Linked DNA regions of Homo sapiens: regions 2, 3 and 4 are each linked to region 1. Evidence: promoter capture Hi-C in 16 types of primary human blood cells and fetal thymus (Javierre and others, 2016). All regions are on one chromosome and are shown on one strand. Each heading gives the region's core, a stretch centred on a gene start or on the middle of the fragment in contact. The rest is flanking DNA. Distances are from core to core; before and after follow the strand shown. Region 1 holds the start of PATL1 (PAT1 homolog 1, processing body mRNA decay factor). Region 2 overlaps MED19 (mediator complex subunit 19). Region 3 holds the start of BTBD18 (BTB domain containing 18). Region 4 overlaps LPXN (leupaxin).

The links. The method cuts DNA at HindIII sites, captures the fragments that hold promoters and counts their contacts. A CHiCAGO score of 5 or more calls a contact.
Region 2: a fragment that was not itself captured here is called in contact with the fragment with the promoter of PATL1 in region 1 in 1 of 17 cell types (activated CD4 T cells); the score reaches 5.3 in activated CD4 T cells.
Region 3: a contact is called between the fragment with the promoter of BTBD18 here and the fragment with the promoter of PATL1 in region 1, in 1 of 17 cell types (fetal thymus). The highest score is 6.0, in fetal thymus.
Region 4: a contact is called between a fragment that was not itself captured here and the fragment with the promoter of PATL1 in region 1, in 5 of 17 cell types (naive CD8 T cells, total CD8 T cells, total CD4 T cells and 2 more). The highest score is 9.0, in naive CD8 T cells.

The regions. Positions count from the first base shown.
Region 1 is chr11:59,667,428-59,670,734 of GRCh38, reverse strand. It overlaps PATL1 (PAT1 homolog 1, processing body mRNA decay factor), which reads left to right and starts at 1,698. Exons shown (of 19, transcript NM_152716.3): 1 at 1,698-1,854. The coding sequence starts at 1,840. It overlaps PATL1-DT (PATL1 divergent transcript), which reads right to left and starts at 1,425. Exons shown (of 4, transcript NR_187296.1): 1 at 1,193-1,425. RefSeq lists enhancers at 1,149-1,438, 1,365-1,659 and a silencer at 1,619-1,968. The HindIII fragment of the contact is 2,400 bases long and covers 918-3,307 here.
Region 2 is chr11:57,705,716-57,709,022 of GRCh38, reverse strand. The region is part of intron 1 of MED19 (mediator complex subunit 19); the gene reads left to right. Among named protein-coding and RNA genes, the nearest start is that of MED19, 4.8 kb to the left of the region's middle. The HindIII fragment of the contact is 6,726 bases long and covers 1-3,307 here.
Region 3 is chr11:57,750,050-57,753,356 of GRCh38, reverse strand. BTBD18 (BTB domain containing 18) reads left to right here and starts at 1,538. Exons shown (of 3, transcript NM_001145101.3): 1 at 1,538-1,816; 2 at 2,121-2,292. The coding sequence starts at 2,169. All of the region lies in intron 2 of TMX2-CTNND1 (TMX2-CTNND1 readthrough (NMD candidate)), which reads right to left. The HindIII fragment of the contact is 11,151 bases long and covers 756-3,307 here.
Region 4 is chr11:58,564,079-58,567,385 of GRCh38, reverse strand. LPXN (leupaxin) reads left to right here. Exons shown (of 9, transcript NM_004811.3): 3 at 3,185-3,231. Among named protein-coding and RNA genes, the nearest start is that of LPXN, 10 kb to the left of the region's middle. The HindIII fragment of the contact is 2,012 bases long and covers 648-2,659 here.

The sequences.
Region 1 (3,307 bases), core at 449-2,948:
TCGAGTAGCTGGGACTACAGGCGCCCGCCACCACGCCCGGCTAATTTTTTGTATTTTTAGTAGAGACGGGGTGTCACTCTGTTAGCCAGGATGGTCTAGATCTCCTTGACCTTGTGATCCGCCCACCTCGGCCTCCCAAAGTGCTGGGATTACAGGCGTGAGCCACCGCGCCTGGCCTGTTACTTAGTATTTGATGTTTTATAATGTTCCATGCATGCTTGAAAACCAATAAATCATCTTGTCCCGACGCTCCACTTCTTTAAAGTTCAGGCCTGGCCCATGTCAACATTTGCTTTTGTTATTCTGGCACAGTGATTAAGACACTCGGTTTTTAATAATCAGACAAATCTCAGCTGCTAGCTTTACCACTTGCCATTGGGTGGTTGGAGGCAAACAATGTCGCTAATCCTCAGGTTCCTCAACTGTAAACTGAGAAAATAACAGTACCTACCTCATGGGGGGCACATAAGGAAGGATTCAATGAGATAATCCATTTTATAAAGCGCCTAGCAGAGTCCCAGGCAGCCTTCAATCGTTAGTAGTGTTACCATCATGAGGCAGGTGTAATTATACCCATTTTACAAGAAACTAAGGCTCAGAGAGGTTTAGGTAAGTTGCCCAAAGTTTCCTAGCCAGTGGCAAAGCACAAGCTCCCACCCAGAACTTTTCTTCACAAATTCAGCGTTTCCGATACTCAAACTGATCCAGACACACTAACATTTAGGGGATTTACTGTATGCCATTCCGAGACGAGGCTGCATTTTAAGACGCCCAGGGAAGAAACGGATTGCGAAACCCAAAAGAATTCATTCTTTGTGCTGCAAGTTTTGTCTGAAAGGAAAGGGGCAAGAAGGGCATGGAGCGTGCTAGAGGTAACAAACCACCCAACAGAATTCTGGAACCAGGGGGCCGAAGCTTCTAAGCTGGACACATTCCTCTGTGGGTTCGATCCTCTAAGGAAGTGGAGTCACCCAGCGGCGCACCACGGCCCGAAGACCCTGCTGCTGCGTGGCCAGCGGCCCACGGCCGTGCGGCCCTTCGAGGCTCTGCAGCTCCTCGCGCCTAATGAGCCTGGCGCTTAAAAATACCACCCTAGTTAAACCTCCCGGAACCTGTCTTCAGCATTTCAAAAAAAAAAAAAAAAAAAACGGGCGCCGTCATCACTTTGAGCCACATAAATCACAGCCCTGACCTGCTGTGGATTCAGCAGGCGACGAGCCGCTGAAAGTGGCGACGAAGTCCGCCCCTTTCGAAGACCAGCAACTTTCCATTCTTTTTTCCCTGCGCAAGGCGCAGATTGCAACGGGGAGACCCCCGAGCAGCCTGAGGAGTGAGTCGGACGTTGGAAAAACTGCCCGGGAATCTCATCTTTCCCAGCCCAGGCTAAGCGCAGGATTCTTCAAAGCTATATCCTGTGACAATCACAAGGGTTTTCTCCGCCCCACGGGTGACGGAGAACTCGTGACCGGCCCCTGAGCTCCAAGCCGAGCGCCTAGAGGGCGCGGAGAAAGAGGGGGCGGAGCTACAAGCCCAGATCACCAGGCAGCCGAAGACGGGCAGCGCGTGCGCAGTCTCTCGCCACGGGACCTCCTTCCCGCCGCTGAGACTAGGAAGCGGGACGCCAAATCTGTCCCTGCGCAGCCGCCGCCGCCGGGCGCCGAGCGGGGTGGCCGCCCTGCCTGAGGCGCGCCTGCGCACGTCCCCACGCACGCTCCGGCGTACGGCGGCGGCCAGGGGTCGCGAGCCGGTGGAGGACCCGCGCGCGGAGGAGCCGGGGAGTCAGCGCTTCTTCCCTCCCTCCCCCTCTCCCCTCCCCGCTCCCTGCCCCCCTCCCCAAGAATGTTCCGCTACGAGGTGAGCTGTTGCGACCGGAAGTGACCCCTCCCTCCCTCCCGCGCCCCTCTCCCTCACTCTCTCTCCGCGCGCCGGTCCTGTGTTCCTGCGGGGCAGGGGGCGGGCTGGGGGAGTCGCAGGACTTAGCTGGACGCGACTGGTCTGGGGTCGCGGGTCTAATCCTAGGGCTGGGAGCTGGCTTCATGGGTCGAGACAGTCCCATTAGTTGCCGCTGGGGAAAGTTGGCCTCCGTTTTGGGGTGGGGAGGGCCCGTTAAGTGCTGTAACCAGACCACACCCCCGCCCCCACCCCTAGAGGAGCCACGGAGGGTAGAGCACTGCATCTCCCCGGGTGCTTTTCTTAAGTAGGTGTCACCCGGGAATTCCCAGAGCCGCGTTTCCCGCCCTGGACCCGGAACCACCCCCCACCCACCTCCACTCGAATTACACTGACACACATCCCATTCACACAGGCTACCTTCAGGTGAAGGGGGCCTGGGCTTGCCGTTGGATTAGGGCCCCAGCCCGTTTACTAAAGAGGGCTCCGAGTTGGGAGGGGGGCGTGTCCTGCAGAAGTTCCTTCTGGGCTAGTGCTGGGAGACGCGGGTTTGGAGAAGGTGCCGGGAATGTAGCAATAGCAGCAGACAGTACTGACCCTGTCACCAACTCACTGTGTGACCTTGAGTGACTCCTAATCTCTGGACGTAAACTTTCTGAATTTGTAGCATGAAAGAACTGATGTAAATGATCCTTAAGAATTTTTAATTTAAAAAAGCAGCGATTTGGTAAAGTAGATATTTGTGATTTGGAAGGGAGTACTGCTGGAAGTTGCCTCTGATAAGGAGGCAGTGGCATGCCTATTGGCATGAGTTTGGAAGGGCTCTGGGGTAAGAAGAACGCCCTTTGACCTAATCTTTCCATTGTAAACAGGGTAGCTAAGAGGTAGCCAGGCAAGGTGTATCACAAACGTACCTACTGATAGAATATGGAATTCTGATTCTGAATTTTTGAAAATTGAGGACAGGTATACTTGATAGGAATGATCTAAGACCAAACCAAAAGGAAAACTTGGAGAATAAATCAGTTGAGTAAGATTGAAGTAAAGGGGGAAAATAGAACACACCTAGGATGTGGTGGCCTCTAGCCTTTGTTCGATAATCTGTAATCTTTGCCCACTTTGATCATCACAACTCTCTGCCATAGTTGGTATTGTCCCTGCATTACAATGTAAGACATTGAGCCTTACAGCCTAGCACAGAACCTTAGACGCAATAGGTCCTTAAAAGGTATTTGATGAATTAATTAGAAATTTTCTGAGTTGCCCATGTTCACACTGATTGTAGGAATGGAGCCAGAACTTGAACTTGTCATACCACAGCTTTTCCAGAGTTCATTTTATTGTGGTTGAAGACCTAATTTTCTGTTTCATCACTAGAGTTTAGGCCTATAGGGAAGATAAGAAAGATGGAAAATGA
Region 2 (3,307 bases), core at 606-3,105, 2.0 Mb after region 1:
TACTTTGAAGTTCACAACACACTTACATGCAGTATTTAATATAAGTAGTATTTAATACTTAGAATAGCCCTTTGAGGTAGCATTACTGTCTACATTTTATAATTGAAAAAACTGAAACATGGAGAAGTTGACATCCCTTTGATTAGTTAGTGGTTGATGTCCACCAGCGGTTTCTTTTAATCTTTCTTTTGCCTTCCCTATTCTGATTGTAGCTATTTGTATCAGTCAGTTGACAGATATTGAATATATGTTCTGGGCAAATGCTGGGTGTATGAGGCGGGTGAGATGGAGAGAGAGATTAGTAATGCTGGTCATTGCTTTTCAAGGAGTTTAGTTAGGAATGTAAAATTTGTGGTTTAAGGATAGTGACTATATTTCCTGTCACCTCCATCTCATTTTGTGCTCATGCCTCACAACAGCAATTAACAATATCTTAGCCATCAATATTAAGAACTACCTAATGGTTTTCAAAGTGTGTTGCTATCCAGAATGACAGTGAGAATAAGATGTCACTTGAGCTAGACCTTGAATAATCCATATTGGTGAAGAAAAATTAGGAAGAATTTTCCTAAGATGAAATAATGTGAGGGGTGTTTTTTTGAGGCGATAAGGAGATCCATTTGGATGGATCAGAAATTTTGCATAGGAGAGTAGTGGTTGATGAGGCCCCAAAGCTAAGTTGGAGTAAGATGTAATTAGCCTTGAGTGCCAGTCAAAGGAATTTGAGCTTTCTCCTGAGGGCAAAAAGAAACCATTAAGATTTGTGAACTGAGGAGTACTGATTTCCAAAAATATCTGGAACATGTGGGTGCCATGGATTGAAATAGAGAAGCCCTGAGTGATGTTGGCAAGATTTGGAATTTCAAAACAATTTTTTTTTTTTTTATCTTGTTGGGCAGGGTGGTTCACGCCTGTAATCCTAGCACTTTGGGAGGCTGAGGCAGGCAGATAGCTTGAGTCCAGGAGTTCAAGACCAGCCTGGGCAACATAGGGAGACCCCTGTCTCTACAAAAAATACAAAAATTAGCCTAGCATGGCAGTGTATGCATGTAGTCCCAGCTACCTGGGAGGCTGAGGCAGGAAAGTAGTTTGAGCCCAGGATGCAGAGATTGCAGTGAGCTAAGATTGTGCCATTACACTCCAGCCTGGGTGACAGAGCGAGACTGTCTCAAAAAATAAATAAATATAAAAAGTAATCTTTGTAGAATAGTCAAAACTGGAATTTGAACTCTCAAGTTACAGTTTAGAAAAAGCACAGACTGCCTTCTCACCTGAGCCTTAAGGATAACCATCTGGACAGAGGAGAGTTGGCAGAGCAGGGGAAATTCAGAAGATTGTAATGGCAAGAGGCAGTGCCCAGAGTTATGAGGAGAGATACTGTGACATTGGGTCTCCTGCCATTACCCTCGCTCAGTCTTCTGAGTTGTTTGGTAGTAAAGGGAAGGAAAAGGATGAATAAGGCCTAGAGGTATAGAGGGAAAGTGCCTTGTTTATTTAATAAATATTTATTAAGCACCTAATGTGTGTACTGTGCTGGGCACTAGCGATACATGAATGAACAAGACATTGTCTGTGCCTCCAAGGAGCTTACAGTTCAGTACCTCAGTTTTCCCAAGTGAATGATTATAAACAAGCCATTTTTGTCATTTGTACCCTCTGTGTCTATCATAATTACAAATGAAGTTGTAGTTAGCTATTTCTACCCTTGCTAGTAGGTCCTTATTAAGTTACTAATAAATGTATATTTTTTAAAAAAGAATCAGCCATGCAATATTTATATGGATAGTGCCTTGCATACATATAATACTTTTTTTTTTTTTTTTTTGAGATGGAATCTGACTCTCCCACCCAGGCTGGAGTGCAGTGGTGCAAACTCAGCTCACTGCAACTTCCACCTCCCGGGTTCAAGCAGTTCTTCTGCCTCAGCCTCCCAAGTAGCTGTGACTACAGGCGCATGCCACCACACCCAGCTAATTTTTGTATTTTTAGTAGAGATGGGGTTTCACCATATTGGCCAGGCTGGTCTCAAACTCCTGACCTCAGGTGATCTGCCTGCCTTGGCCTCCCAAAGTGCTGGGATTACAGGCATGAACCACTGTGCCAAGCCTGATACTTTATGCTTTTCAGCATATTTTCATTTGAACCTTGGGAGAAAATTATGTGTATGTAAGATAGCTATTATTCCATTCCACAGATAAGAGGAAACTGAGGCATGGAAGACAGCCAGAATAATTCTAGTTGCCTGACTTGTTTTTTTGTTTTTGTTGTTTTGTTTTGTTTTGTTTTTTTTGAGACAGGGTCTCACTCTCTCACCCAAACTGGAGTGCAGTGGCCTGATCTCAGCTCACTGCAACCTCCGCCTCGCAGGGATTACAGGTGTGTGCCACTACTGTCCAGCTAATTTTTGTATTTTTAGTAGAGACAGGGTTTCACCATGTTGGCCAGGCTGGTCTTGAACTCCTGACCTCAAATGAGCTGCCCGCCTTGGCCTCCTGAAGTGCTGGGATTACAGGCGTGAGCCACCGCGCCTGGCCATTAGTTGACTGACTTCTAATCAAACATTTCTTCCTGGATGCGTGCTGTGGCTCACACCTGTAATCCCGGCACTTTGGAAAACCGAGGCGGCGGGGGGTGGCGGATCACTTGAGGTCAGAAGTTCAAGACCAGCCTACTCAACATGGTGAACCCCCTTCTCTACTAGAAAAAAATTAGCCAGGCATGGTGGTGTGTGCCTGTGATCCCAGCTACTTGGGAGGCTGAGGTGGGAGAATCACTTGAACCTAGGAGGCGGAGGTTGCAGTGAGCCAAGATCGTACCCCACTGCACTCCAGCCTAGGCGACAGAGCAAAACTCCCGTCTCAAAAACAAAAAACATTTATTCCTTTTAGGCAAGGCATCATACTCAGTATCACGAGGAAGAATAAAGATGTTGGTAACAAGTTAGGCAGTGGTAGCTAGAAAAAAATCTCCCAGTTCTTTTCTTATGTAAAGGTGATTAGTGTTTCTTGCTAGTAAAAAAAAAAAAAAGTCCTTGACAAGACCCTTAAGTCACTGGGTCATATTTGGCCCCCTGAGCATGGTTGTAGCTGAGCTGCAAGGTCGTATTTTCCTAGCTGTGTCAGAGAATATAATTTTTCACTAATACATTTTATGAGAAACACTCAGAACAGCATTTACCACGAAGCAAGCATCATATAAATCAACTCCAGTTAATCTTAAGAGAGTGGAGTGTCTCCTTCATTGGGCTAGAGCAGTTCCTGTCTCTGCCCTATTGGATTTTTGCCTGTTTTTCCCCTTCCCATTGGAA
Region 3 (3,307 bases), core at 289-2,788, 1.9 Mb after region 1:
CAAGAATTCCTCCCTGACGGGCCCATCCCCCTGCCTCTTGCAGCCCAGCCATCTTCCCTCAGCCCTCAAGTCCCTCGAGACTTAGCCTCCCGCCCAAAGCGCTCCTCCTGTTCTGATTGGTTCTCCCGGGAGCCTTCGGCCAATGGGGATGACGTATGCCGGACGACGTAGGCCCGAGGACTCGGGAGGAGGAGGGGCGTAGGGCTCTGCGACGCGCAGCGCGCTAGGACGGTGGCACGAGGTGTGTGGCGCTGGCCGCGTGGCCTTACAACCCTCGCTATCACTACCACCCAGTGCATGTGGGTGCTGAAGCCCGCAGGGATACAAGGGCGCCAGGGGCTGCCTGCAAAGTCTATGCTGGCGGAGGTGGCCGTGACGGGAAGTCCTGACTTTGGGCCTCCCGGATCCCCACGGTCCATTCCCAGAAACCCTCGCGCCTAGGAGTCTTTCTTCAAAGGAGTTGGGCCAGGGCGCCCAAGCGTGCGGGCCACCCCGCTTTGCAGGGCTCTCCCTGAAGCCCTGCTTTCTCCGCCAACACCGATTCCCTTGCTTCTGGATGGGGAGGTGAAGCACTCAGCCGTTGGCCCACCTGCGCATCTTTGCTCAGCCTCCTGACTCAACGCTGAACATTGAGAGGAAGCAAGGCAGGCTGGACAGAGGACAAGCACAGAGAAGGCAACAGGAGCAAAGTCTACCGAAAAGCTATTTCAAGTTGGGTCTGGAGGCAAGGCCAGGCGATCGTGGATTGAGAAGCTTCCCCAGGGCCCTTGCAACAGCTGCCATCCTCCATCCACATCTCTCTCACTGGGATGGGAATTTTTTTTTTTTTTTTGAGACGGAGTCTCGCTCTGTCGCCCAGGCTGGAGTGCAGTGGCTCTATCTACAACCTCTGCCTCCCAGGTTCAAGCGATTCTCCCACCTCAGCCTCCTGAGTAGCTGAGATTACAGGCGCCTGCCACCATGCCCGGCTAATTTTCGTATTTTTGTAGAGACGGGGAGTCACCATGTTGGCCAGGCTGGTCTCAAACTCCTAACCTCAGGTGATCCACCCGCCTCGGCCTCCCAAAGTGCTGGGATTACAGGCGTGAGCCACCCCGCCCAGCCAAGCCCGCCTTCTCTTAATTTACCTTTTCATTCTTCTTTCCTGATAGTTTTGACGTGAACTGTTCGGACCCTCAGTGCTACCTGATAGAAAACTGCATTCCAGGAAAGGAACACAGCTGTGCAGTGAGTGGGGGGGTTTCGGAGCTAAAAAGCTGGACATAAGCCTGAAGTCAGAATACTCAGTTTGTTTTGGGAGGGGTAAAATGCTTTACTATCCTTGCTGCATTGTTAGCCTGGTAATTAACTATACAAACGTAAAGGCCAAATTCTTTGCCTACTACCAGGGTCAGTCAGGCTCGCTTTGGTCAAGTACACCCAGCCAAGGGTGGCAACGTCCTTGGTTCTGTGAGAGACCTTCCCGCAGAGTCAGAGGCTTCTCTTCTTTATTGTGCACCCTCTGCTGGTTAGTGTGATACAGTGAGCTCAGAGAAAAGGCGCATACGACTTACTAGAGATAATTTTATACCCAGTAATGTTTCCTTAAAAGTGTTAACTTGAAGATTATACCTGTGGAGCTGGGATGTGGTGCTCAGGAAGAATATAAGTAGTCAGCATTGTAGCAGTTGAGTCTCAGTGGTAATGGAAATGAGGAAGGTTGAAGGATAATAATAGTTACCATTTGGGGCTTGGTAGTTATTTTGTGCCAGGCACTCACTGTGCTAAGCAACTTTACCTTCACTGACTCATTTAATCTTTAAAACAACCCTACAAGGTAAGTACTATTATTCTATTTCATGGATAGGAAAGTGAGACTCAGAGAAGTTAGGTCACCTGTGTGAGATTATACAGCCAGGCTAATAAATAGAGCCAAGACCCAAACCTAGGCTTATCTCTGAGCTCCCACATGTAACCACTATGATAATTTTCTTTCTTGAGATATCCTTGGCACAATTTCTGGGCTGATGTTTCCTCAACTCATACTATTATCTCTCACTTTCAAAATTCCCCTGCCATTTCAAAGACAAAAAACAAATTAGATGTAACCATGCCTCTGAAATGTATTATCTCACCTACAGGAGTCTGATCTGTGAAAACCTAGAAGGTTTGTTAAGACTCTTGCCAACATGTGCTCTCCTGCCAGTCCCAAAATCCTATACAGGAACCCCCGGTTCCTCAGGTTAGCTTTTCTGCAGCTTCATCACCAGCAGCAGAGTGATGTGTTCTGTGATGTCCTTCTGCAGGCAGAAGGTAAGAGAGTGGTCGGAATTCAACTGAAAACTCACCATAGAATAAGATAAAATGAGTTCAGAGCCAGAGGGTAAAGGACAAAATCAGCAAAATATTACTGCCTATGACCACTGTAAACTATTTGGTAAAGGGCTGTTTGTTTCTAGGACAATTACTACTGTTTTCAAGAGTGAAATTGTGACTTTGCTTCTTTCTCTTAAATAATGAATCTAATTGTAAAGTTTTATAAGCAGATACATTCTATATAACATGGATAATATTCCAATGGGATGGTTGTGAAGATTAAGAGTTAATGTGGGTAAGCACTTAGAATAGTGCTTTTAATATACTAACCACAATATGTGTTAGATGATACTATTATGTTTTCTTTTTGAGAGTCTCACTCTCTTGCCCAGGCAGGAGTGTGGTGGCACAATCACAGCTACCTGCAACCTCCACCTCCTGGGTTCAAGTGATTCTCATGCCTTAGCTTTCTCAAGTAGCTGAGATTACAGGCATGCGCCACTACGCCCAGCTAACTTTTGTATTTTTAGTAGAGATGAGGTTTTGCCATGATGGCCAGGCTGGTCTCAAACTCCTGGCCTCAAGTGATCCACCCGCCTGGGCTTGCCAAAGTGCTGGGATTATAGGCGTGAGCCACCACGTCCGACCCTTTTCCCATTTTCTTTTTTGTTGTTGTTTTGTTTTTGAGACAGAGTCTCTCTCTGTCTCCCAGGCTGGAGTGCAATGGCACGGTCTCAGCTCACTGCAACCTCCACCTCCCGCGTTCAAGCGATTCTGCCGCCTCAGCCTCCCGAGTAGCTGGGACTACAGGTGCGTGCCACCACACCCGGAAAATTTTTTGTATTTTTAGTAGAGATGGGGTTTCACTATGTTGGCCAGACTGGTCTCGAACTCCTGACCTCATGATTCACCTGCCTCAGCCTCCCAAAGTGCTGGGATTACAGGCGTGAGCCACGTTGCCCGGCCTGCTTAATTTATTTAATCTTCAAATTGATGACTTTTGTTGTTTGTT
Region 4 (3,307 bases), core at 404-2,903, 1.1 Mb after region 1:
AAATGTTTCAATTTTGTTTTTTATCTAATTCAAACAATCAAAATAAAATATGTGAAAATTTATTTCCTAGTCAAAAAGTGAAACATCTGACATTGTTAATGCCACTGTAAATTTAGTTGAAAAGCTCAACATTGAAGGTAAACTGTTGTTTTTGTTGTAAGAATATGAATACAAATGTTAATAGAGCACAGCATTGTGTTAAAAATGTTCTTACCAAGTTAACAAGCTATGAAGCAGAAATGTACTTGGAATTGGTTGTAATGTGCACAAAATTTGTGACTGCATTCAAACAAGCTGCGGTATTCTGTCAGTCAAAACAGAAACTAAAATTGTCAAAATGTATAAATTATAAATATATATATACACACACACACACACACACACAGATTTTATAAGTAACTGATCTACAAAACTTTTCTGACAGAAGCTGATATTGAACACTACCATGCAAGGAAACATTTCAGAATGACTATATGTATATTCCTGTCTGTGTTGCATGTCATCAATTGGATTTTGGGAATGCCTGAGCCTTTGAAAAACCACTTTGTAAAGCAACCCAAATTTAGATTGCATTATGTTCAAGACCAGTTGGAAATTTTTAATCGATTACTGAATGAATGTAGCATGAAAATTCAGCTTTTGAAGCTTTTAGCAAGTTACAATTATGTAAAATAAGGCTTGCAAAGGAAGAAGCTCAAATTTCTCCCTACAAAAGCGAAGAAGGAGTTGAACAAATCAAAAGATGAAAGCAGATATGGTTTAATTATCTATTTTGACAATTGTGCTTCAGAAAAATCTTGACTTTGATGTATTTTGACTTCTAATTTTATTTGGATAAATTTTTATTCTCTACCAAAATGGAGAAAAATTGTGAAAGTCTATGATTTTGCAGTATCTAGATTTGGTGAAATGTTGAAACAATCACAGATATAGACAACTTGAAAGTTTTATCTTGTAAGAAATTATTGAGCAAAAGTGCTTTGAATGAAGGTAGAAAGACAGCACCTATGACGATATTGGCCTGAAATATTTACATATTTTAATCTAAAAAATGAGAAGATTCTTCATTTAGCAGAACTTACAGGTTCATCAGTATCTAGAGAGGAAATGTGTTCTCAGTTAAAAACATATAGTGAAGCATCAATTAAAGTTGTCCATAATTTCAAATATATTAACCATAAAATGAAGTTTTGAAAAAGATTGCAGTTTTATAAAAAAATAACTGTTTAAATAAAAAACGAAAAAAAACACATGTTCCTGAAAAATGTCCACATCCCAATGCTAGAGACAATAATATCTAAATAACCAATTAAGGTATGTGAATACATATAAAGAATAATTGTCTGTACCATTAAAAATGTTCAGATAATCAATTTTTTGTTGTTGTTGAGACAGAGTGTCACTCTGTTGCCCAGGCTGGAGTTCAGTGGCATGATCTTGGCTCGCTGCAACCTCCGCCTCCTGGGTTCAAGCAATTCTCCTGTCTCAGCCTCCCGAGTAGCTGGGACTACAGGCACCCACCACCATACCTGGCAAATTTTTTTGTATTTTTAGTAGAGACAGGGTTTCACCATGTCTGGTCACATGACACCAGGCTGGTCTCAAATTCTCCTGACCTCAAATGATGCACGTGCCTCAGCCTCCCAAAGTGCTGGGATGATAGGCGTTAGCCACTGTGCCTGGCCAATATTTTTTTAAAGTTGCTTGAATGTTCATAACTTTGTATCACTATCACTTTAAGATATTTCAGGAAATTTTTATTTTGAAAATAAATTTTGGATAGAATTATCTTATAGGTCCACCAATATAATAAGACCAAATTCAGGTCAATAAACACATTTTTTTTTTTTTTGAGACCGAGTCTCGCTCTGTCACCCAGGCTGGAGTGCAGTGGCATGATCTCAGCTCACTGCAATCTCTGCCTCCCGGGTTCAAGCAATTCTCCAAGCCTCAGCCTCCTGAGTAGCTGGGATTACAGGCACGCAACACCACTCCCAGCTAAATTTTTATAGTTTTAGTAGAGATGGGGTTTCACCATGTTAGCCGTGATGATCTCGATCTCCTGACCTCGTGATCCGCCTGCCTCAGCCACCCAAAGTACTGGGATTACGGGCGTGAGCCACCACGCCCGTCCAATAAACACATATTTTAAAAATGATACAAGCTCGTGACCCGTCTGCCTCGGCTGCCCAAAGTACTGGGATTACGGGCATGAGCCACCATGCCTGGCCAATAAACACATATTTTAAAAATGATACAATATGACTTATTTTTGGAACCCATTTTCTTTCTAAAAAATACCCCATTCTGAACGTTTGGTGATGTGGCCACCTCATCTGTATGATCTGGCCCCTTTACTTGCTGTCCCTGTGTCCTTGGTTCACTCTGCTCAGGCCACACTCTCCTTCTCGTGGTTCCACAGATGCTCCAGGTGGTTTTCCTGCTGGCCTTTCCACCTGAATCATATGACCCCAGATATTTGCTTTCTTTCCCCACCTCCTATATAAGTCCTTGCTCAAGCGTTCTCTTCTCAGTGAGTCCTTCCCTGATCAGTATATTTATAATTGCTGTCTCTCCCCACTTCCCATCCTCTATGCAGAATATTACTTTTACATACCAATTTCTTTATTATTTGTTTCACAGCACCAGAATGTAAGCTTCAGGGCTTACAGTTTTTATTTGATTTTTTTGCTTTTTGACTGCTACATCCTCAGCCCTGGCACATGACAGGCCCTCAATACATATTTGTTCAATTAATAAATGAATTGCCAGCCAACCATCTTTTAGATTCACATGTTATTTCTTTTCATATGTCAAGTTTAATAACATTATAGTCTCCTCCTAGGCACCATCCTGTTTAGTTAAAGGGGCTTAGCTCTGACCCATTTTATTTGATTTATGGTTCTTATCTAAGGAGGATCAACTTCTCTATTTGGGTGGTTTTTAGGCAAGGAGGGGCTGCTAGTGTTTGTTCACATGCCAACTACTCTGTTTAGAATTTGGCTTTTCTTTGTGGGATGGCTGGTAATTCCTCTGGCTTGTGAAAGAAGAGCTCATAGATATGCCACTTGTCAGTCCCCTTTAAAAGCTACAAACATCTATTAACTGTGGGTATCATTAAGCCTCAACATTCTGATAACAAAAATTTATTCTTTGCTCTTCTCTTGTCACTTATATATCTTAGGCGCAGCTCGTGTATACTACCAATATCCAGGAGCTCAATGTCTACAGGTATTTTTTTTTCTATTAAATGCTTTTAAAAATTAAAGTTAGTAGATAATTGTTATCAATCTTTGTTTGGGTGATA